Regions from separate parts of the Homo sapiens genome. Here all the other regions are linked to region 4. Evidence: promoter capture Hi-C in 16 types of primary human blood cells and fetal thymus (Javierre and others, 2016). All regions are on one chromosome and are shown on one strand. Each heading gives the region's core, a stretch centred on a gene start or on the middle of the fragment in contact. The rest is flanking DNA. Distances are from core to core; before and after follow the strand shown. Region 1 overlaps TTC7A (tetratricopeptide repeat domain 7A). Region 2 overlaps TTC7A (tetratricopeptide repeat domain 7A). Region 3 has its middle 6.1 kb from the start of TTC7A. Region 4 holds the start of EPCAM-DT (EPCAM divergent transcript). Region 5 holds the start of MSH6 (mutS homolog 6). Region 6 overlaps TTC7A (tetratricopeptide repeat domain 7A).

Evidence for each region. The method cuts DNA at HindIII sites, captures the fragments that hold promoters and counts their contacts. A CHiCAGO score of 5 or more calls a contact.
Region 1: a contact is called between a fragment that was not itself captured here and the fragment with the promoter of EPCAM-DT in region 4, in 1 of 17 cell types (neutrophils). The highest score is 6.1, in neutrophils.
Region 2: a fragment that was not itself captured here is called in contact with the fragment with the promoter of EPCAM-DT in region 4 in 1 of 17 cell types (neutrophils); the score reaches 5.7 in neutrophils.
Region 3: a fragment that was not itself captured here is called in contact with the fragment with the promoter of EPCAM-DT in region 4 in 1 of 17 cell types (neutrophils); the score reaches 5.4 in neutrophils.
Region 5: the fragment with the promoter of MSH6 here is called in contact with the fragment with the promoter of EPCAM-DT in region 4 in 9 of 17 cell types (M0 macrophages, naive B cells, naive CD8 T cells and 6 more); the score reaches 12.3 in M0 macrophages.
Region 6: a fragment that was not itself captured here is called in contact with the fragment with the promoter of EPCAM-DT in region 4 in 1 of 17 cell types (neutrophils); the score reaches 5.1 in neutrophils.

What each region holds. Positions count from the first base shown.
Region 1 is chr2:46,994,525-46,998,122 of GRCh38, forward strand. TTC7A (tetratricopeptide repeat domain 7A) reads left to right here. Exons shown (of 20, transcript NM_020458.4): 8 at 612-675. Among named protein-coding and RNA genes, the nearest start is that of TTC7A, 55 kb to the left of the region's middle. The HindIII fragment of the contact is 5,728 bases long and covers 1-3,598 here.
Region 2 is chr2:46,977,493-46,981,141 of GRCh38, forward strand. It overlaps TTC7A (tetratricopeptide repeat domain 7A), which reads left to right. Exons shown (of 20, transcript NM_020458.4): 5 at 1,300-1,415. Among named protein-coding and RNA genes, the nearest start is that of TTC7A, 38 kb to the left of the region's middle. The HindIII fragment of the contact is 9,377 bases long and covers 1-3,649 here.
Region 3 is chr2:46,933,218-46,936,967 of GRCh38, forward strand. It overlaps a transcript of MCFD2 not described here and a transcript of TTC7A not described here. Among named protein-coding and RNA genes, the nearest start is that of TTC7A, 6.1 kb to the right of the region's middle. The HindIII fragment of the contact is 2,102 bases long and covers 222-2,323 here.
Region 4 is chr2:47,343,446-47,347,028 of GRCh38, forward strand. EPCAM-DT (EPCAM divergent transcript) reads right to left here and starts at 1,629. Exons shown (of 5, transcript NR_110208.1): 1 at 1,456-1,629. The HindIII fragment of the contact is 13,271 bases long and covers 1-3,583 here.
Region 5 is chr2:47,781,714-47,785,521 of GRCh38, forward strand. It overlaps MSH6 (mutS homolog 6), which reads left to right and starts at 1,432. Exons shown (of 10, transcript NM_000179.3): 1 at 1,432-1,780. The coding sequence starts at 1,521. RefSeq lists an enhancer at 805-874 and silencers at 1,005-1,484, 1,765-1,924, 2,125-2,214. The HindIII fragment of the contact is 5,497 bases long and covers 1-3,089 here.
Region 6 is chr2:46,953,463-46,956,963 of GRCh38, forward strand. It overlaps TTC7A (tetratricopeptide repeat domain 7A), which reads left to right. Exons shown (of 20, transcript NM_020458.4): 3 at 3,377-3,501. Among named protein-coding and RNA genes, the nearest start is that of TTC7A, 14 kb to the left of the region's middle. RefSeq lists a silencer at 1,668-1,962. The HindIII fragment of the contact is 2,718 bases long and covers 158-2,875 here.

The sequences.
Region 1 (3,598 bases), core at 17-2,516, 350 kb before region 4:
CCTGCCCTGCTGCACCTTGCCAGTCTCACATCTCACGCAGGGTTCTGTCCCCACTGGTGGCTTCCTCTTTGCCCCATGCTCTCCTCCAGTCTCCACTCAGCACACTGCCAGCCAGCCTCCTCAGTCTCAGCAGGAGCCAGATGAACTAGAGAAGGCAGGTGTTGGGGTCCAGGTTGTGGAGATAATCCTATAAGGCACTCGGAGACCAAAGAAATCATTTAGAAGTTACCTGTCTTCCCAGTAGTCTTGTCTGATACACCTCTCTCTCGCTTGTGCCATTCATCGAAGGTGCGGTCTGTAGCCAACCAGCAGAGCGTAGTTCTGGCTTCTCCCTGCTTCTTGCCCCAGCCATTCCCTGCAGTGCTGGTGCTGGGAGGAATGTTTCCTCCCTGGGAGAATCCGTACTATTCCAGCCCAGCAGCCACCACCCACCGCAGCCTTTCAGATCCATAACTCTGGGGCATATGGTATCCGGTGCCCATGAATTATGCAGGAAGAGGTCACCTTACCGAGCTGGTGCTGACTCTGGGGCAGAAGGCTGGCATGGTGGGTCAGTGGTGCTGTCTGGTGAGGTGTGTGCTCTAGCCAGGCCTGTCATTGGTGTCTTTCAGCCTCTACTGCCCCAAGGACAACATCGAGGAAGCCCTCCTGCTCCTCCTCATCAGCGAATCCATGGTAAGCTCCAGGATGTCCTTCAGGGGCCTCTGGCCCTCTGACCCTGTGGGGAAGGGCTGTGGGGCCCAGGTACAGGCCACCCGTGACCTAGCCAAACTCTGTCTCCCAGGGATACTCCTAAAGTAGATGCTTCTTGGCCCTGGGCCCCCATACAGCAAGTCTTGCTCATTAGGTTTGGAATTGGCTGTCGAAGGCTTCATTTGGAGGCCTGCGTTCTGCCCCCAAATAAGTAGAGACTGAGTGCCTAAGTCCCCACCCACCTCTTTTGGGATTAAAAAGATGATCATCAACAAGGTCACAGTAAAATGTTACATAGCTGTGTGTTGGGTGCTGTGACAGATTTGAGAACATGGCAGGTAGGGAATGGAAGGAATGTGTACTTTGGAGTCAGAAAGCATGGAATCAGGTTCCAGTTCTGCGTGTTAGTTGAGGGCTGGGGCACATCACTTATTTTCTCTGAGCCTCCGTTTTCTCCCCTGTAATATAACAATACTCACAAAGGTAAGTGTGCCTATGGAAGGAGTTCATTTATTCACGCAACAGCTATTTATTGAGCATCTACTTTGTGCCAGACCCTGCTCTAGACACCAGAGATGCCGCAGCAAACAAAATGGAGAAAAGTCCTTTCCCTCGTGGAGCTTACATTCTAGTAAAGGGAAGCAGGCAGTAAATTAATCAAAAACTACAATATGCAGGATGTCCACGCGTGAATGCTATGGGAAAAGAACACAGAGGAGAAGACAAATCGTGCTAGACAAAGCACACATGAAGTTGGCTGTTTAGACTTTTCTACAGGACCCATTGCTCATGTCCTGGGCAGGAAGATGAGGCAAACACAAGCACGTGGATGCACGCACACACTCGTGCTTGCACACATATGGTGGCCATGGTACCAAGGAATGTTTGCCCAGGGCCAAGCACTTTGGGTGCTCAGCAAAGGAGAGTGCACTGTGGCTGTGTGGTTGAGGAGGTGGTAAGATGAAGGATGGACTGGACTGGTCCAAAGGGGGCACAGGAAGAGTGGGGCAGGAGCATCAGAAGCCAAGCACACAGGAGTCATCTACATGGTCAGGTCCAAGTCCTCCGACCAAGGGGCCCATCAGAGCTGGTGAGCTGGGAACCACCAGGTTGAGAAATAGGTTTTTAAAAAAACGACGCATCTGAGAGCAGTGTATGGATATGGAGGTTAAGAAACCAAGATCCCGTGAGCTGGATCCCTGAACAGCCAGAAGTGAATGTTCCCTTGGATGCCTGGGACCATGCGATGCCAGGGCTTGCTTAGATAGCGTTGGTAATCAGATTGCCTCTGGTGCCTCAGGCCTCCCAGCAAATAGGAGCAGGCGCTGGCCTGTGGGGCAGAGGGATTGCATCCTGCCTCAGCTGGGGCTGGTCCATGTTGGATCTGAGAGTTTCTGTGTAGGGTGTGGATATTTGGATGGGAGTGCCAGCTGGCCAGGGTGTTGCCCTAAAATGTTTGCCTGTGAGGTGGGTAAGTGGTTGCCCAGGGGAGGGGCCATCTCGCTGGTTAGCAGCTGTGGAGATACAGGGACCATGTGCCACATCTGATTTTCATGGGAGAACAGTGTGCTTTTTACTTTTTAAAATGGGCCCTTACTCTGACCACAGACTGAATCCTAGTTTTGAAATATGGAACCCCAGATGCAGACCAGTATTCCCATCCCCTCTCCGCCATTTCACCACGTTCACCCTCCAGTGAGACTGCCCTGGAATCATCTGTCTGGAAACACAGAGTTTTTTTTGTGGTGGTTGTTGTTGTTGTTGTTGTTGTTGTTTTTTGAGACAGAGTCTCCCTTTATCGTTCAGACTGGAGTGCAGTGGTGCGATCCTGGCTCACTGCAACCTCTGTCTCCCAGGTTAAAGCGATTCTTCTGTCTCAGCTTCCCGAGTGGCTTGGATTACAGGTGCGCGCCACCACACCTGGCTGATTTTTGTATTTTTAGTAGAGACGGGGTTTCACCATGTTGACCAGGCCAGTCATGAACTCTTGACCTCAGGTGATCCACCTGCCTCAGCCTCCCAAAGTGCTGGGATTACAGGCATGAGCCACTGTGCCCGGCCTAAACACCGGTTATTTTGTGGCCTTTGTGTACTGAGGCTTCCAGTGCAATTTACAGGTAGGTGGTGAAAGGCTGGAAACGGGGTCGTCTGTTAGGTCCTTTCTCAGCTAGGGAGGTTCCAAGCTGATTAGGTGCGCATTATGTTGAGTCATATGAAATTGCCAATTTTCAATTGTTTATGACCTGCAAAAACAACAGTTTCATATAGTTCAGTCTAATACTGTATGTTCCCATCTTACAGATGACAAAAGTGAGGTCCAGGACAGGTATGGCTGTTGGTCAAGGTCATATACTAATAAGCCTTGAAGCCATGACTCGAACATGTCCTTCTCCCTCAGCAGTTTCCAAGCCCCAGGACGCAGGGCTCCTGGACTTCCATCCTGGTACTTCCCTTGCCCACTGCTCTAATCCTTGTTCTTAAGTGTAAAAGGCCAAGGAGGTGACTTTGGGGATCAGAGGGCTTTGTAAAAGGGACAAGCCTGTCAGGGTGAGGATGGTCATAATTTTTCTCCTGGTAGGAGTGAAGCTGAGCTCTGTCTTCCCAAGTCATTTTCTGTAGCCTCTGCTTGATCTGAGTCCTCAGGACAGAGTTCAGATGCCTTTCAGTTAAGGCTGTCCACCCACCCCCAAACCCTCCAAGTGGAGAATGGCCTTTTACAGAAACATGGCCCGTGCTTGGAGCCAGGTGGGTTTTCCTGAGTATGCGATCTCCTCCAAGCAGCTCTTTCCCTTTTGTAAGACAGTGTGGCTGGCAGCCTGCCTCAGAGACTAGGGGTTATGGGGTGGGTGAGTCTGGGTTGGCTGGCCAGGTGGTGTCCTGGGAGATTCCCTGTGGCATAGGAAAC
Region 2 (3,649 bases), core at 480-2,979, 370 kb before region 4:
GCTCAGTTAATGAGGTAATTGTTCCTCAGCTTTTCCTGGAACCAGAGGGCTCTCAATTCTCTGGATGTTCTGACGTTCCATGCTTGTTTGAGAGGGACAGTACGGTGCCTGGCATATAGCAGGCACTTAGATGTTTGTGGAATGAATTAACTGATACATAGTAGAAATAGCTTGGAATCCATACCTGGCTAGGCTTGAGTTTGAGGTCCGGACTGACACCAGCTTTGTGATCTTAGGCATTAAATTATTATTGATGGATTGATTGGGACAGAGCCTCACTCTTTTGCCCAGGCTGGTCTGGAACTCCTGGCCTCAAGCGATTCTCTTGCCTCGGCCTCCCAAAGTGCTAGGATTATAAACGTGAGCCACCACATCTGTAATTGACACTTTTGACCTTAGACATTTTCTGAGCCTCAGTTTCCTCATCTATAAAATGCAAACAAAACCAGCCCTGTAGGACCGTTGTGAGGCATAAGTAAGATTTGGGCTTGGGTGGCAATTTTCTAAGAGTTTCATTTCCCCTTCTCTTTCCTTAACTGGAGGTGGGGCATGGACAGTAGTGAGACTCAGGAGACACAGCTCCTGTCCTGTGGGAGTGAAGTCTGGTGGGAGCTGAGGTTTGCATACACAGAACAGGGAAGCAGTGCTGCGTGAAGCGGTCTCTCTACCATGTGCTCAGGCAGTGAGTGCTGTCTGGTTGAAGAGTGAGTGCTCAGCATGGTTCTGGACAGACAGAGAAGTCCTCCTGCAGTAGAGGGTAAGAGTGGAGAGGGGAACCTGACTGCCTGGCTCCGCCACCACCTGCCACGTTAGTGGCCTTGGGGCAGGAAGAGACCCTCTCTGTTCTCACCGGTGAAATAGAAATGATGACAGTTCCTACCTAATAGAGCTGCTCTAAGGACTAAATGAGCTAATGAATTTAAAGCTCTGTGATTGTTGAATGAATGTTAGGGGCTTAGTGCAGTGGTTCATGCCTGTAATCCCACCACTTTGGGAGGCTGAGGTGGGAGGATTGCTTAAGCCCAGGAGTTTGAGATCAGCCTGGGCAACATAGTAAGACCCTGTTTCTTAAAAAAAAAAAAAGACAGAGGGCTTGTGGGCATCTAACGGTTGGATGGGGAGAGAATGCTTTAGACATATTTTGAGTTAAAGCGAGTTAGATCAAGCCTGGTCTGAGAATGCAACAATGTGCCCCTGAACAACTGGGACTGGGATGGTGATGAGGCCACCTCCTCTTGCTGAGTGACCCTCTGCCTCAGAACTTTGAGACAATGGCTCTCTCTCTGTTTCCCTTCCCAGACCACAAATAACAGCACGTCGAGGCATCTGAAAGGCTGTCACCCGCTTGACTATGAGCTCACCTACTTCCTGGAAGCTGCCCTCCAGAGCGCCTATGTGAAAAACCTGAAGAAGGGGTAGGTCACTGGTAGTTGAGTGAGTGGGAGAACGATTCCCCTGGGCTGAGGCTTTTGACGTGGCCTTAAGGCTGCTCTCCCTCTTCTCTGGCCTGTGCATACGTGCTCTTCCAAGAGGATTGGTGGGAACTGGCTTGTGTCACATCTTGTCAGACAGGAGTGTGCAGAGACGTTCTTAGTGGGAAGGGCCACGCTTCAGGAAGCCACAGAAGCAATAAAGCCTGTGTGTGCTTGGGGGAGACTGCCAAGAAGAGAAACAGGAGTGGGCATTTCAAGAGGGGAGGGTGGAGGGCATCTGGGAGGTGATGTTGAAAAAGCAAAGGACAGTGAGCTGGCCAGTGGGTCTGGTTTTGTCTACTGTTGTCTGCAGTGTGAATGAAGTTATTTGGTTCCTCTGAGCCTCACGTTCCCCAAAAACCCAATGGGAAGGCAGATTCCTGTTCATTCCGGCTTTTAAGGAGTGGTGAAGGACGAGGGAAAGTATGGTAGAAGTGAAGTTCTGGCGTCACGCTGGGGCTGTGGCTGTCCCTGCTGACGAAGCAGCAGAAGTGCTTGTTTTCCTGTGGGTTGTCTTGAGGTCCCTGGAATACTGGCCTATCTGAGACCTAAGAACCATAGTGCCTGGAATGCCTTCCGTAGGCTTTTGCTCCTGGGTGAAGCAAGACCTGCCTTGTTGAATAGTCGAGGGGGTGGCTGGTGTTAGGCCGGGAGTGGTTGTTTCATGGGGTGTGTTGGGTGGTGGCAGGGGAAGGAGAAGATTCAAGATGAGGAGTGCGTATTGGCAGCAAGTGTCGCTTCATGGCTATTCCGCAACTGGTCCGGTCTGCTGGCAACATCTCCACCAGTCTGGGGACTCCCAGGCGGGAGCTGAGGTTTCCTGCCTGTCTCTGCAGCAGAGGCTTTGGGCCCCTTCCTCTGCGTCATTACAACCTTAGACAGACACAGTGGGCTGGGGCTGGAGGACATCACTGACGAGAGGAGCAGACCCATAGGTGCCAAGCGCAGCCGTCCCCCGTGCGTAGTCACGCCCTGCCTCACTCAGCCTTCCATGGCCATGGGTCAGGCCCAGTAGGTGTGACCACCTCCTCACACACAAGGAAACCAAGGTCAGGGTCACACAGCTTTCTTGTCACTGACTGCCTGGAGTTCTCTGAGGCCTGTGTGCCATTTTTAGTGTGATTTATTTTGTTACATTTCACTTTATGCATTCTTTTCATTACATGCTTTTGAATACATGATTGTTGCATATGGTACTTGTTTAGTAGGATAAAGCAAACTTACTGTTTTCTTCTACCCTATACTCTCTCTCTTTTTTTTTTTTTTTTTTTTTAAAGACAGATCTTACTCTGACATCCAGGCTGGAGTGCAATGGTGTGATCATGGCTCACTGTACCTCCTGCGTTCTGGGCTCAGGTGATCCTCCCACCTCAGCCTCCTGAGTAGCTGGGACAACAGGCATGCACCATCACACCTGGCTAATTTTTTGTAGAGAGGGAGTTGCATTTTGTTGCCCAGGCTGGTCTCAAACTCTTGGACTCAAGTGATCCTCCCGCTTCAGCCTTCTAAAGTGCTGGGATTACAGGCGTGAGCCACTGTGCCTGGCCCTACTTTATACTCAATACAACACAGGTCATTTCTGTGACCAAATGTGGGGTTTTTTCCGCGACTCACAACCAGTTCTCTGACACCAGCTGGGTTTCCAACAATTAAATTCACCTCTGATGCTAACCGTCAGGCTTGATCTGGGCCCTGGCTGGGGCAGGGGAAATGGAAGGAGTCTGGGAGGGGCACAGAGGCTCAGTCCCATGAAAGACTGCCTTCCATAGCAGATACCAGTCACAAATAGCAGGTTCCCAGGTTACCAACAACTTCTGTCTCAACTGGCTACAAATCAGGTTCCCACAACCTCTTCTCAGATCCATAAGTTGCCAGAGCAGCTCATGGAACCCAGGAGAGCAGTTTACTTGCTAGATGACTGGTGTGCAGTACCACGTAAAATGGTACAGCCTAGCCAGGTGGAAGAGGCGCATAGGGCTAGGTATGCGGAAGGCATGCGGAGCGTCCAGGGCCCCTCTGGGTGCACCACTGCCACGTGTCCAGCAACCTGGAAGCTCTCCAAGCCCATGCTTTTGGGTTTTTATGGCTGCTCCATTACGTAGGCATGATGTATTATATCATTGGCCACTGGTGATCAGCTCAACCTTCAGCCCCTCTCTGGCCCTTGACAGAAAAAA
Region 3 (3,750 bases), core at 23-2,522, 410 kb before region 4:
ACCCCGAGGAACAGAAGGGACTGGGATGGTGGGAGGGAGGGCAGTGCCTGGAGAGATATTGGTATCTCAATCATGAAGTGAGTGGCTGGGGATAAAAAACACCCCAAAGCTCTCATCTCCAAGTGTGGGAAAATCTTCAACATTCTGAGATTCTAAAATTAATATAACAAATAATTACTGAGTGTCTACTATGTGCAAGCACAAAGAATTCATGATTCTGAAGCTTGCCTTTGTAGGACTTCATCTCTTAGCGTAATGATTACATGTAGTTTTTCTGGCAGCTGACAAAGGAAAAGACCATATAGCCAGCTCCTGGCAGAGTTTTAATGACAACATTCTGGGAGGGCTGGTTCAGTATTGAAATTAAGTAAGACATAAGATACCATGGGCAGGATGTGCTCTGAGCCAATGATCATGGTAATGAGTAAAAGTTGATTTCCGAATGTAGCGATCCTGAGCCATGCACATGACTACATAAAGTTGGGAAGGCAGTTGTCATTGTGCTCTACTTCGCATATACTGATGATCTGAGTGGCTGAAATGACTGTTGATCATGAAGCAAATGTTTAATTTATATTTAAATTTAGGATTTCTAGGGTGACAGCAAGGTGGAGTGTCATAAAAAAGTCAGAGCACTGGTCAGAAATCTAGCATGTGCTGGGAACACAGGGCTCTAAGGGACCCCACATGGTAAGTATGAAAGAAGAGGCCAGAGTGGAAGGTGGGGAGGGCATCTCATTAGGCTTGGTGCTCTACTTCTGATGGCTGGGAGCACTTGGTGACCTCCAGCCCAACTACTCACAGCCATTGTGACAACTAGTATAAGAATGATTTGATGAAGGCGAGGAGAATGTCATAATAATCATCCATAATAAATTTTTGAGTCAGTACACAGGAAGAACAGAAACCATCTACACCTAAGGTACTGTTGACCTTGACATGGCTTTACTATTGCAGGAAACTCTTACCCAGGATGATAAAAGTTGTAAATAACTTCACTGTTTTTTGCAGAAGTTTTCAGAAGAAACCATTTAAATGAACTCGATGACTTTTGTTTTTGAGACAGAGTCTTGCTCTGTTGCTCAGGCTGGAGTGCAGTGGCACAATCTCAGCTCACTGCAACCTCTGCCTTCCGGGTTCAAGCAATGCTTGTGCATCAGCCACCTGAATTGCTGGTATTATAGATGCATGCCACCACGCCCAGCTAATTTTTGTATTTTTAGTAGAGACAGGGTTTTGCCATGTTGGCCAGGCTGGTCTTGAACTGGCTGGTCTCCAACTCCTGACCTCAAGTGATCCACCCACCTCAACCTCCCAAATTGCTGGCATTACAGGTGTGAGCCACCCAACCCGGCCTGTGACTTTTCAATAGATAGACTCAAACTGCTTTTTATTCTCTAAAACACTTTAAAAACCCTCCCCTCATAGGTTGCAGTAAGCCTGGATGACAGAGGGAGACTCTGTCTCAAAAACAAAAACAAACAAACAAAAAAACCCGCACTTCAAAACCATCACTTTTGCCCTATCCCAACAATCCCAATCCTGGAATAAGGTATGAAGACTACTGCTCTTTTTTTTTTTTTTTTTTTTTTTTTTTTTTTTGAGACTGAGTCTCGCTCTGTCGCCAGGCTGGAGTGCAGTGGCATGATCTGGGCTCACTGCAACCTCCGCCTCCCGGGTTCAAGCGATTCTCTTGCCTCAGCCTCCTGAGTAGCTGGAACTACAGGCGCGCACCACCACGTCCAGCTAATTTTTGTATTTTTAGTAGAGACAGGGTTTCATCATGTTGGCCAGGATGGTCTTGATATCTTGACCTCGTGATCCACCCACCTCGGCCTCCCAAAGTGTGGGGATTACAGGTGTGAGCCACCACGCCGAGCCCTAAGACTACTGGTCTTTAAGGCCTTTGATTACTAGACCAACACCCCTGAGAAGCGTTGGTCACTAGATGGCTGAAGGCTTGTCCCTGCTGGAAAAGAGCTGTGAAGGGGTCAGGCGTGTGTGGAGGAACAGCTCATTACAAATGTGAGCCATGACAACTGTTCCTCCCCACACTCTTTCATCCTGAGCCCAGGAGTTCAAGGCTGCAGTGAACTATGATACTGTTGTATCATGATCCTTGCCCAGTCCTAATCAAGTCCCGTCATTGGAAGAGCTGCTTTAAAATAAACTCCTTTCTTGCCACTGAGCTTAAGCAAAAAAAATAAAAAAACAAAACAGACCCCAACACTTCATAACTATTCCAACTTTGCCTTCCCTATTCCAGACACTGCTATGACTCTGTCAGGGTAGTGTTCTCCCTTCCTGCCATGAGAACAAGCTAAGCTTTGCGTTATCACAAAAATTGTCTTGATGGTATTTGCTGTCACCCAAATGTGTACATTTACTTTTCTAGATAGCATTCAATTATTGAGGCCCGCAGTGATCCAACTGAGACCTCCTCAACACTGCAGTCCAAGACCCCTGACTCGGAAACAGGGTGATCCTCTGAGGCTCTTAAGCTTCCTGCTTGGAGTTCTTTCAGACTGAAACAATGAGAGATGCAAGTCTTGTATTGGACCCAAGCTCCAATTTCTTTTTTTAATTTTTCTTTTAGGTGTGATGGCTCACACCTATAATCCTAGAGACTAGGGAGGCTGAGGTGGGAGGATTGCTAGTGGCCAGGAGTTTTGAGACCAGCCTGGGCAACATAGCAAGATTCAGTCTCTTAAAAAATTAGAAAACATAGCTAGGGGTGGTGGCGTGTGCCTGTAGTCCCAGCTACTCGGGAGGCTGAGGCTGGAGGATGGCTTGAGCCCAGGAGTTCAAGGCTGCAGTGAGCTATGATTGCACCATAGCACTCCAGCCCAGGTGACAGAGCAAGACCCTGTCTCTAAAAACATAAAAAATAATAAGAAATAAATATATTTGCTTATTTAGCTTCCCAAATACTGAGCTTATTTTCTCTTCTACCAATAAAGAACTCTTTATCTGACCATATTTGAAAATCTTTTCCCCCTTGTGGATATCTGCCTTATTACTAACAACGCTACTACTTGTCTGTGTTCATCCTTGTCATTTTTTTGTTGTGCATCTGTAAGAGGAAAGTTTTTAGAGAAGAAGATAGGTGTAGGTCTCAGTCTGTCCCTTAGCTGGCCCAGGGACAAATTTTGTCTCTGATCAAAACTTTATGAGAACTTTTCTCAGACGTGTCTTATTTTGTCTTTAAGAGTTTGGTTCAGGACAATCTCTCCGGACCCTCTGTCTGCTGGGAACTGTAAATTCATCAGGATTACAGTTGGAAAAGGTCTAGCTATGAGGCTGGGGGGTCCTGAGCCACAGGATACACAAGCAACTGTCAGCTCACCATTCGCAGACTCTCATGGTTCTGTCTTAATATCAACCTGTCTATGGCTTCCTCGGGCCAGACTTCTGCTTCTTGCATGTATTTATGCTGTCACCCAAATGTGTACACTTACTTTTATAGACAGCATCATCATTTCCCCAAAGATAATTTAGAATTGCGGTAGCCACTATGAGGAATTTCTGATATGCACAAAAGTATTCACTTTAGAATGCAAAGTGAACACAATTCCAAACATCCAGTGGTCTTCTTTTTTTTCATTAGCATGAGCAAGCATACAAAAGAAACAGGATTCCAAATTTTTTTTTTTTTTTTTGAGATAGGCTCTCTGTCACCCAGGCTGGAGTGCAGTGGCACGATCTCAGCTCACTGCAACCTCTGCCTCCTGGGCTCAAGCGATCCTCCCA
Region 4 (3,583 bases), core at 379-2,878:
ACCTAAGATAAGCCAGTAGCCACGTCCACTCTGAGCCTGTGAGCAGGCAGGATCAAGTCTAAGAGCATCTCTTCTTTGGAATCTTAAGGCCTAGGATCCCAGCAGTTTTGGGGTCTAAAGACTTTTCAGGCTCCCGAAACTCCCTCTATTTTTAATAATTTTAAATGTTTCCCCAATACTTAGCTAAGCAAAGAAGGAAAAAGTGTACTTTTATTACACAGTCAGTTCTGGATAATTCTAGGGGAAATTCTTCCATTTTAGAAATCTCTGCTTTCTTCTTTTCTCCCAGATTCTTCTCATTAATTCCCTCAGTAAATATTTGTCTGTGGCAGGGTGCAGTGCTCGTGCCTGTAATCCCAGCACTTTTGGAGGCTGAGGTGGACGAATCACCTGAGGTCAGGAGTTTGAAACCAGCCTGGCCATCATGGTGAAACCTCGTCTCTACTAACAGCACAAAAATTAGCTGGGCATGGTGGTGCGTGCCTGTAATCCCAGCTACTTGGGAGGCTGAGGCAGGAGAATTGCTTGAACCAGGAGGCGGAGGTTGCAGTGAGCCAAGATCACGCCACTGCATGCCAGCCTGGGTGACAGAGCAAGACTCTGTCTCGGGAAAAAAAAAAAAAAAAAACTATATATACATACATACATATATATATATATATATATAAAATGTACATATATATTTATCTGGCACCTACTAGATGCCCCAGGTACCATGGTAGGCACAGGTGTACAGTGATGAAGAGCATTTTCCTATAAAATATTACCCAGGCTGACTCCAAGTTTTAATACCTCAGGTAGGAAAAGGAGGAGAGTGTTAGTAAAATGTTTGCCGTTGAATTTCACCAGCGTAAAAACAACATTCTGGGAAATAATTATCTGCACTTCAGTTCTTTGGGGTGGTACCGGAGGGAATCTTTACAAAGGTGGTATTAATGGAGAAGAGGAAGGGAAGGATCCTTAGTGATGGGTTGTTTTTCCAAGCACCTCGATCTAGTGGATTTCCTTTTTTTTTTTTTGAGATGGAGTTTCGTTTTTGTCGCCCAGGCTGGAGTGCAATGGCGCGATCTCGGCCCACTGCAACCTCCGCCTCCCAGGTTCAGGCGATTCTCCAGCCTCAGCCTCCGGAGTAGCTGGGATTACAGGCACTCACCACCACGCCCAGCTAATTTTTGTATTTTTAGTAGAGACGGGGTTTTGCCATGTTGGCCAGGCTGGTCTCAAACTGATCCGCCCACATTGGCCTCCCAAAGTGCTGGGATTATAGGTATGAGCCACCACGCCCAGCCAGTATTTCCTATAAATAAATGCTCCTATAAATAAATAGTACAAATACCTTTCCAAATCTGAGAACTACTAGTGAGCATCAGTTTTAGAGATAAATAGAACAAAGCTCCTTTTCTGCAGTAAGAATATATTAGCTTAATGTTGCTTTTTAAAAAAGTTTCCACTGACCTTAAAAACACTGAAATCCAAGAAATTGGATTCTGGAATCTGAGGGCGAGGGAATCCCAGGGTTGTGGACACGCGGTCACATCAACAACAAAAACAAAAAGGAAATGAAAAAAAAAAAGGGACAGCAGCCTGAAATACTAAGAATCCAGGTCCCTGCAGGAAGCCCAGGGGACTGCCAGGAACACAGCCCCATCCCGGCCACGTGATCATTCTCTAGCCTTCCCCTGGGGCCTGGAGACAAAGGAGAGGGGAGGAGACTTGGGGACAAAGAGCAAGAGCTGTAGAGTCTAGCCCTGGGGTGAGGATGCCACGGCTACCCGGCTGTGAGTTTCTGCCTTTGTTTTTTGATCTTTCCCAAAGGAAGTTAAACATTAATCCGAGCTGTAAAAGGACTAAGTAAGCAAAGGTGCCTGTGAGAACCTCTAAGGCACCTGGTCATCCAGTCTGCCCGCCACACTGAGAGCAAAGCGTAAAGGGGAAAGGCTTTCACAACCAGCTCGAGCCCCCAGCCCCTCCTTTCGGGGTTCTTCCCTGCCTTTCAGAGTCTCCCCTCCCACTTCTCCTTTGGATCTCTGGGCGAACCTCTTTCCTTTCTGCCTCCATCTTAGCATTTATGCCTTAAGTTGCTGTCCCTATGCTGAAATAAATTCATTACAGAAAAGTATGCTCCCTGATAAATGGGTATCAGGTAACGACCAATGGTGAGAAGGGAGATAGTTTTTGTTCTTTGATGTTGTTTAAAAAAATTGCAAATGTCATGACAACGAGGCCAGTCAAGAAGACAAGGTGAAAGCCGGACAGAGATTCAGGTCCTTGCATGGCTGTGGAATCCATTTCCTCTGGGTACAGTGAAACTGCTTCCCCTAGCTTCCATTTATGATGATTTCCATTATTTGGAACGTTTGTTACTCTTTCTCTCTCTTTCTGTCACACACATGGGTACAGTGAGAGCTAGATGCAGTTTAGAAACCAAATCTCTGTTGAACAGACTGTTAATTTAAATTTTTGAAAACAAGGAAAAAGGAATAAAAATTCTAGTTCTGTAGTTCAGTGTTGAGTTTATTTTCCTTGTCTTGTTATTAGGAGTTTTGCCTTTGTCTCCTACCTGCTTCTGTTCCTCTCTGATTTCTCTTGTGGCTGATGGAGAGGAATTTTGGTATTGCATGTTCTTCTGAGACTCCTGGCGATGCTTTCCCAATTATAGAGCGAAAATACTCATTATGAGGCCAGTTTTAAAAATGGCCAGCTAGGCAGATATAAGGTTTTTCATGGTTGTTTAATTAATCTGTAATTAGCTCTGAGGGCACCACTTTTCTTTAATTTTGTTTTTGTTTGTTTCTTTGTTTGTTTTTGTAATGGAGATACTTACCTACAATAGGCTGAACACAGTGAGTCACACCTGTAATCCTATCACTTTGGGAGGCCAGGCTGGAGAATAGTTTGAAGCCAGGAATTTGGGTCCAGCCTGGGAAACATAGTGAAACCCAAGTCTCAAATAAAAATAAAAATAATAATTTACATATAATAAAACGCACAGCTCTTAGAGGTACAGAGAGTGTTGACAAATGCATACACGTGTGTAGCCCACACCTCTATCAAAATATAGAACATTTCCATCACCTCCTAAGGATTTCCTCATGCCTTTTCCCAAGGGAGGGGACTCCCAACTCCCTCCCTGTCCCAGGCAACTTTGTTCTGATTTCTGTCACCATAGATTAGCTTTGCTTGTTTTAGAATTCTGTATCAATGGACTAATACAGTGTGTACTCTTTTATATATGGCTTTTATTACTTAGCATAATGCTCTGAGGTTTCTCCGTGTTGTTGCAGATATCCGTAGTTCCTTCTGACCTTCAAAACAAAGGTACCTTTGATGGAAAACCCCCACAATTTATTAAGTGCCCTATGTATAGGATCTGTTCGTAGGCACTGTGCTTGGTGTTGAAGAAGTGCAGTGGCTTTCTTCTGTGTCAACTTAGCTGAGCTGGAACATTTCCCAGAATTCCTGTCCCTGTATATTCTGGGTTAGCGTTGGCTACCAGAGAAATTTGCAGTGTTTGGAAGGTGTAGGAAACAGCAGCCTTTTTTCTTTTTTACTGCTCTGAAGGTAAAGCGCAGGCAGCAGGCAC
Region 5 (3,808 bases), core at 182-2,681, 440 kb after region 4:
CTCCTGACCTCGTGATCCGCCCACCTCCGCCCCCCCCCCGAAGTGCCGAGTGCTGGGACTACAGGCGTGAGCCACTGCGCCCGGCCCCCGCCTTTTTTTTTTAGATTGATTTTATTACTTGCCTAGCAAAGGAGAACCTTCTGGCAGAACAGTCTCCAAGAACAAGGCAAACAACTAATTTTACATAGGTTTTTACCAATGTACAGCTGTTGATTGTGACTGGTTTCCGGCAATCTGGATTTCACAATCTGGATAAGGGGACAAACAATTGTCTGTCTTCCACTATCTTTCTTGAATTTGAATAGAACCTTTTTATTCTCATAGCCTCTTAGCTTTCTTTCTTTTTTTTTTGAGACGGAGTTTCGCTCTTGTCGCCCAGGCTGGAGTGCAGTGGCGCGACCTTGGCTCACTGCAAACGCTGCCTCCCAGGTTCAAGTTATTCTCCTGCCTCAGCCTCCCAAGTAGCTGGGATTACAGGCGCATGCCACCACGCCCGGCTAATTTTTGGATTTTTAGTAGAGACGGGGGTTTCACCATGTTGACTAGGCTGGTCTTCAACGCCTGACCTCAGGTGATCCGCCCGCCTCGGCATCCCAAAGTGCTGGGATTACAGGCGTGAGCCACTGCGCCCGGCCTCTCATAGTCTCTTAGCTTTCTAAAATTTGAAAAATCCTGTAAAGACACACCTGGGTCAAAGGGCTCAGATAACGGACTGTGGCCCTTAAGTACTTACGTCACAGGTTATTGAGAGGATCGATTTAGTTACCAGATGTAAAATGCTGGGATCAGTGCCTGGCAAAGGAAAACTTTGTACAGCTGCAGGCTTTCACCATACACAACAGCATCGCTAACGAATGCTATTACAATATTCATTTAGCGTTTACCAAGTGCCTACTCTATACAAATCTTGAGAATACAACGTGAAGGTGAACTGCTGACTAAAGTTTGGTCCCTTTCGCTCCGTCTCCTTGCGAAAATGCTCTAACGGCAGGAGGTCACGCGAGCGCTGGACGCGTTTCTCCCCGCGAGCCCCTTTCCGAGGCCTTTCGGGTCCCCCCGGTTATCCCCGCCCGGGCGGTGCGCGCCCCCGCTGTTCCCGCTTCCGCTCCAGAGAGGCAGGGCTTTCCGAGCCTGCTAGCCCCGCGGCCGCAACTAACCCCGGGTCGGAGTGTTCCGGCCCGGCCAGCCCCGCGGCGTGAGGGAAGGGGAGCTCAGCAGTTCCCCGCGCGGGGCCCAGGCGTCGGCGGCAGGGCGGGCCCCTCACCGCCAGCGTGCCAGCCCCGCCCCTACCCACCAGTGTGCCAGCCCCGCCCTTCCCCACGTCGCCGCGCGCCCGGGGGCGGGGCCTGGCGCGCACCGCCCGCGCACGGCGAGGCGCCTGTTGATTGGCCACTGGGGCCCGGGTTCCTCCGGCGGAGCGCGCCTCCCCCCAGATTTCCCGCCAGCAGGAGCCGCGCGGTAGATGCGGTGCTTTTAGGAGCTCCGTCCGACAGAACGGTTGGGCCTTGCCGGCTGTCGGTATGTCGCGACAGAGCACCCTGTACAGCTTCTTCCCCAAGTCTCCGGCGCTGAGTGATGCCAACAAGGCCTCGGCCAGGGCCTCACGCGAAGGCGGCCGTGCCGCCGCTGCCCCCGGGGCCTCTCCTTCCCCAGGCGGGGATGCGGCCTGGAGCGAGGCTGGGCCTGGGCCCAGGCCCTTGGCGCGCTCCGCGTCACCGCCCAAGGCGAAGAACCTCAACGGAGGGCTGCGGAGATCGGTAGCGCCTGCTGCCCCCACCAGGTAGCGGGGTGGGGGTGGGGTCGAAGGCGGGGGCATAGCGGCGGGGCGCTTGGAACCCGGCGAGGGGAGGCTCGCACAGGGGGTTGGGGGGGTGCACGGCCTGGCCCTGGGCTCGGAGGAGGCGGGGCCGCAGAGTTGGCTTGAATGAGTGCAGGGGTCGAGTCTGGAGCATTTGGGGGTGTAGCTTGTAAACAGGGTCGGAGGAGAGAGGCTGTGCAGGAAGAGGGCTGCAGGGGAGACGCGGAGAGTTCGGGCCTTTTGGAGGGAGGAGACGCGTCCCGCCAGGTGGGGGTGCTGGGCTAAGGAAGGGGCGACGCGCGCAGCTCCGGGTGGGGAGGGGGCCTGGGAGGTGGGAGCACTGGGGGTGGGGCGAGAAGGGGAAGGCGCCCGGCCCACTTGGTGGGCGGGGCGGGGGGCGGGGTGGCGGGAAGGAGGAATGCCTGCGGGAGGCCGAACGGGGAGAGTCCGGTGGTGTGGGGTGCGAAAGGAGGTTCCTCGGCCGGCGCGGAGATAGTGAGTTGGGGCTCCAGTAGTCGATCGAGGTAGACACTTAGAGGTAGTTAAGAGCCGCGGTCGCCGAGACGCCTTGGGGACGGTGGGCCTTCGGCCTAGGTGAGGGGCCGCCGAGGGGGTGGGCCACGAGCTGCGAGCGCGGGGGGGTGTGTCACCATGGGGACCGCGGGGCCTAATTGGGCGGGGCGGGGCCGTGGGGAGCCGAAGTGCTGGGATCCGGCTGGGTCCTTCGGTAGGTAGGCTGCACGTGCACCGAGACGAAGATAGAATATTTTGACGTATGTGGAAATTCGTGTCGAGTGGAAAATATTTTATTTTATGAAATAGTGTAATTTTTATGGGGCACCACTGGGCTTTTAGAGGCCTTAATCGGGCGCTGGACAAAGATGTGTGGACGTGAGTGACTCCGGGGAAGCCTGTCGGGAGTTGTCCTCACTTTATGGGCAGTTAAGTGCTTTTTTTTTTTTTTCCTTTTTGAGAGAGAGTTTCGCTCAAGTCCAGGCTGGAGTGCAATGGCGCGATCTCAGCTCACCGCAATCTCCGCGTCCCGGCTTCAAGCGATTCCCCAGCTTCAGCCTCCCGAGTAGTCGGGATTACAGGAATGCGCCCCCACACCCCGCCAATTTTGTATTTTTAGTAGAGACGGGGTTTCTCCATGTTGGTCAGGCTAGTCTCGGAATTCCCGACCTCAGGTGATCCACCCGCCTCGGCCTCAAAGTGCTGGGATTACAGGCGCTAGCCACCGCGCCCGGTCTGTTTAGGGCTTTTTATCCGGGCAGCTGGCGACATTTTGAAAAGCTTGCTTTTGCTGTTTGCCAGATACATATATATGTATTTTGAGACAGAGTCTTGCTCTTTTGTCCAGGCTAGAGTGCAGTGGCGCGTTCTTGGCTCACCACAACCTCTGTCTCTGGATCAAGAGATTATCCTGCCTCAGCCTCCCAAGTAGCTGGGACTACAGGTGCGCCCCACCACGCCTGGCTAATTTTTGTATTTTTAGTAGAGACGGGTTTCACTATGTTGGCCAGGCTGGTATCGAACTCCTGACCTCTTGATCGGCCCGCATTGGCCTACCAAAGTGCTGGGATTACAGGCATGAACCACCGAGCCCGGCCGTTTGTCAGATACTAAACACAAAGTTTAATGGTCGCTATTTGAACAAACGAAGAAATAAAGGCTCAGAAAAAATAACTCATTCAAGATAAGAGCCAGTTCGTGTTTTTTGTTTGGTTTTGTTTTGAAATGGAGTCTCGCTCTGTCGCCCAGGCTGGAGTGCTGTGGCGCTTTCTCGGCTCACTGCAACCTCTGCCCGCCGGGTTCAAGTGATTCTCCTGCCTCAGCTTCCCGAGTAGCTGGGATTACGGGTGTGCCCACCGCGGTCCGGCTGATTTTTCACCATGGAGTTTCACCATGTTGGCCAGGCTGGTCTTGAAACTGCTGACCTCAAGTGGTCCACCCACTTCAGCCTCCCAAAGTGCTGGGATTACAGGTGTGAGCCACCGTGCCCGGCCGCTA
Region 6 (3,501 bases), core at 267-2,766, 390 kb before region 4:
TAGTATTTTCTATCTCACCCGCAAAGATCAGGTCACAGTTGGCGTGACCTTTCTTGGCAGCTGATGCAGTCTCAGGTGGATTCCTGTGCATCCAAGTAGCTCTGCTGGATGAGAAGGAGAGCTGGGAGAGGTGGGTCCTGAGGCCCCTCCTTGGGAAAGCTTGAAACCCTTTCCTCTTGGTTATCTCTCTAAGACCCCGTCCAGCTCAGTTGTGTGGAGATCAGTGAAAACAAGCCACTTGTCCTAAACTCTGTTCTGCTACTAGGTTGAGGCTTTGCACCATCGCATGCAGGCCTCCAAGGAACCTTCTGCAACGGTATTTACTATTAGCCCCATTTCTTTTTCTTTCTTTCTTTCTTTTTTTTTTTTTTCAATTTTTTGTAGAGACACAGTTCTTACTGTGTTTCTCAGGCTGGTCTCAGATTCTGGGTTTCAAGCGATCCTCTTGCCTTGGTCTCCCAAAGTGCTGGGATTACAGGTGTGAGCCACTGTGCCCTGCCAAGCTCCATCTCTTGAGACCCAAGAAAGGTGATCACAACCCAGGCCTTTAGTGTCTACAGCCCATGCTCTAATGCTGTCTCTCATTTCTTGGTACTGCCTCCCAGAGTACTGGGGTGGAAATAAAATAATGACTGGGAAAGTTGGATTCATGTGAAAGATGGTGATCACACCCCCACTTTTATAGTTCCCACGTTAGTCTGTGAAGTATTTCCTCATCCGTTCTTTCCTCATACCTGGATATCTCCATGAAGTCCTTTTTCCCCTTTTATTGACAGGGACAGTGAGGCACAAAAGGAGTAGGTGATGCGCTGATCCACACAGTAGAGGGGATTGTTCCTCTGGTAAAGCGACCTCCCCCGTGGCACCCTCCCACTGGGCAAGGGGTTCCGTTCCCTGACTGTTGTACTGATAGACCAAGAATATTTCACATTCAAATGCATGGGCCCCACAGAGTGCAGTGGACTCTTAATGTTGCCAAGTAAGGACATTAAGAAGCAAAAAATAGCAGCAAAATGATACCATCTTCTGCTCTTACTGTGCTATAACAGAAAAACAGTTTAGCATTGAAAGGGCAAGGTAGATATCCTTTCAGAACTAAGAGCCTTTTTTTTTTTTTTTTTTTTGAGACAACGGAGTCTCGCTCTGTCACCCAGGCTGGAGTACAGTGGCACGATCTTGGCTCACTGCAACCTCCGCCTCCCGGGTTCAAGCGATTCTTCTGCCTCAGCCTCCCAAGTAGCTAGGATTACAGGCGCCCACCACCACGCCCGGATAATTTTTGTATTTTTAGTAGAGACGGGTTTTACCATGTTGTCCAGGCTGGTCTCAAATTCCTGATCTTAGGTGATCTGCCTGCCTCGACCTCCCAAAGTGCTGGGATTACAGGCGTGAGCCACCGTACCCGGCCGAGCATTTTTTTAAATAGTGTAAATGTGGCTTTATAAAACATGCCCTGCATTGTCTAATTTTTCCCCAGCTTGGTGGAAGCTCTGTTGTAAACTGCCACTGGTCCTCCAGGAACCGCCACTAGCCACACCCCATCAGCATGCCTGAAATGTCCTTCTCTGCCTCACTGCCCTTGTCTCCATGTGCAGGATAATGATAAATACGCATACCCTGTATTTATCTTGCTCTTTTCCAAAGAAAAGTTCAAAGCTCTTTTCTGGACTTTGCCCTATTAATGCCTTCAGCATCGCTGTGATAGGCAGTGAGGAGTAGGTGTTATTATCTCTCCCTCACCCACGAGGAAGACGCAGCCCGAGCAGGGAGGAAATGAGCCCGTGGCTTGAGACCAGTGCAGGGAACGCAGAGTCACTGCCCAGCTTGGAAGGACTGTGGGCCACATACCTCTGGGATGTGTCATCTGTGGCCCTGGCCCAGGGAGTGGATGGCCTATCTGGGAAGACTAGCAAATCCCCTCAAAAGATTCAGCTTTGGAGAGTTAATTAATAGAGAGAGCAGGTCAGGCGTGCAGAGGCTGAATGGGCCCATTGGTAGAGGCATTGGAGGAGTTCAGCTGAAGGGAGCTCCCTGGTAGTCAAGGAGGCTTTCAGGAGAAGGTGGGCCTGAGCAAGGCCCCAAAGGATAGAAGAGGACCTGGTTAGGCCAGGGGGAAGGGGACCTGAGGAAGCACAGGCAAAAGAGGAATGTGGATTTACAAAGGCCAGAAGGACCAGTTGGGAAGGTGAATTTGGCTTCCCCAGAGCCTGTCTGTGCCACGCTTCATTTCTCTTGGCTTCTGAGAGGGCAGTAGATGGTAAGGAGTGCTGGAGGCTTGCCCTGGGGTCACAGGGACCCCAGACTCTTACCTCCCTACAGGGAGACAGGGGTAGCACCTTCCTGCCAGTGACAAATGCCAGGTGTGGGATGAGAGCTGCATCTTCGGGGAGTTTTATGGACAGATTGGTGCCTGTGTGGCGGGAGCAGTGCCCAGGGCCTGGCCCATAGGCATTGTGAGCCAGCTGAGGACAGGATCAGAGGCAGGGGGCCAGAGCAAATGGCCTGCAGAGGCGGGAGGTTACAAGGAGAACTGGGGCCATGTCCAAGGTCAGAACTCACGTGCCAGGGTGGCACAGCCCAGGGCCAGCACAGCCTCCCTCAGGCAACAGCACAGGATCCCAAGCCACAGTAGGGGTGATCATGGCTGACAAGACCACTGCAGGCCCTAAGGGAGGCCCTGAGAGTTCCTCTGTGGGATGGAGATTGAGATGTAAGCAACTTTTGAAAAAGGAGGGGAAAGAAAACACGTTTAAATTCAGCCACTCTTGGCCTCCGTGATTCTGCACTTTGACCCATTTCTGATAGGAAGAGGATGGTGACGCAGCAGGCCCTCTCCTCCTCAATCTGTCCCTCTGCCACTGTAGGGGGAGGCATAAGCTTTAGGGTCCTCACAGGCTGTTTCTAAGGCCTTTCACCTAATTATGATTTGCATATACATGTACACAAGAGGACTCCCAAAATGAGAAGCCTGGGGCTCCACAAAACTTAACTCCATCTCTGACTCCCCACTTGTGTTTAGAATAAATGCCTGAGCTTCTGAGTGCCCCCTGGGGCTGCAGTCTTTGGGGGGATTCAGGAGAGGGAAGACAGGGCCTAGTCTGCAAGGTCTCTGGAGTCTTGCTGGGGGCATAAAACGCACACACATGAAACAATTAGGGACTCATAGGAGAATTTTATTGAGAACCACAATGTAGGCTGCAGACCATGGGTGAGAGCGGGGAGCTGTCGGCATGTGCTTGAGCATCAAAGAAGGCTTTCTGGAGGAGGAGGGGAGTTCTGAGCAAGGTCTGAGGCAAACAAGGTCCAGGTTCAGTGGGGGTGTTCACCCCAAGGTAACTTTGGGGCAGGCGCTGGTAACATGTCCTTGTCATTTCAGCCACAGTACATGTGTGAGGCCATGCTGATCCTGGGCAAACTGCATTACGTGGAGGGCTCATACCGAGATGCCATCAGCATGTACGCACGGGCCGGGATTGATGACATGTCCATGGAGAACAAGCC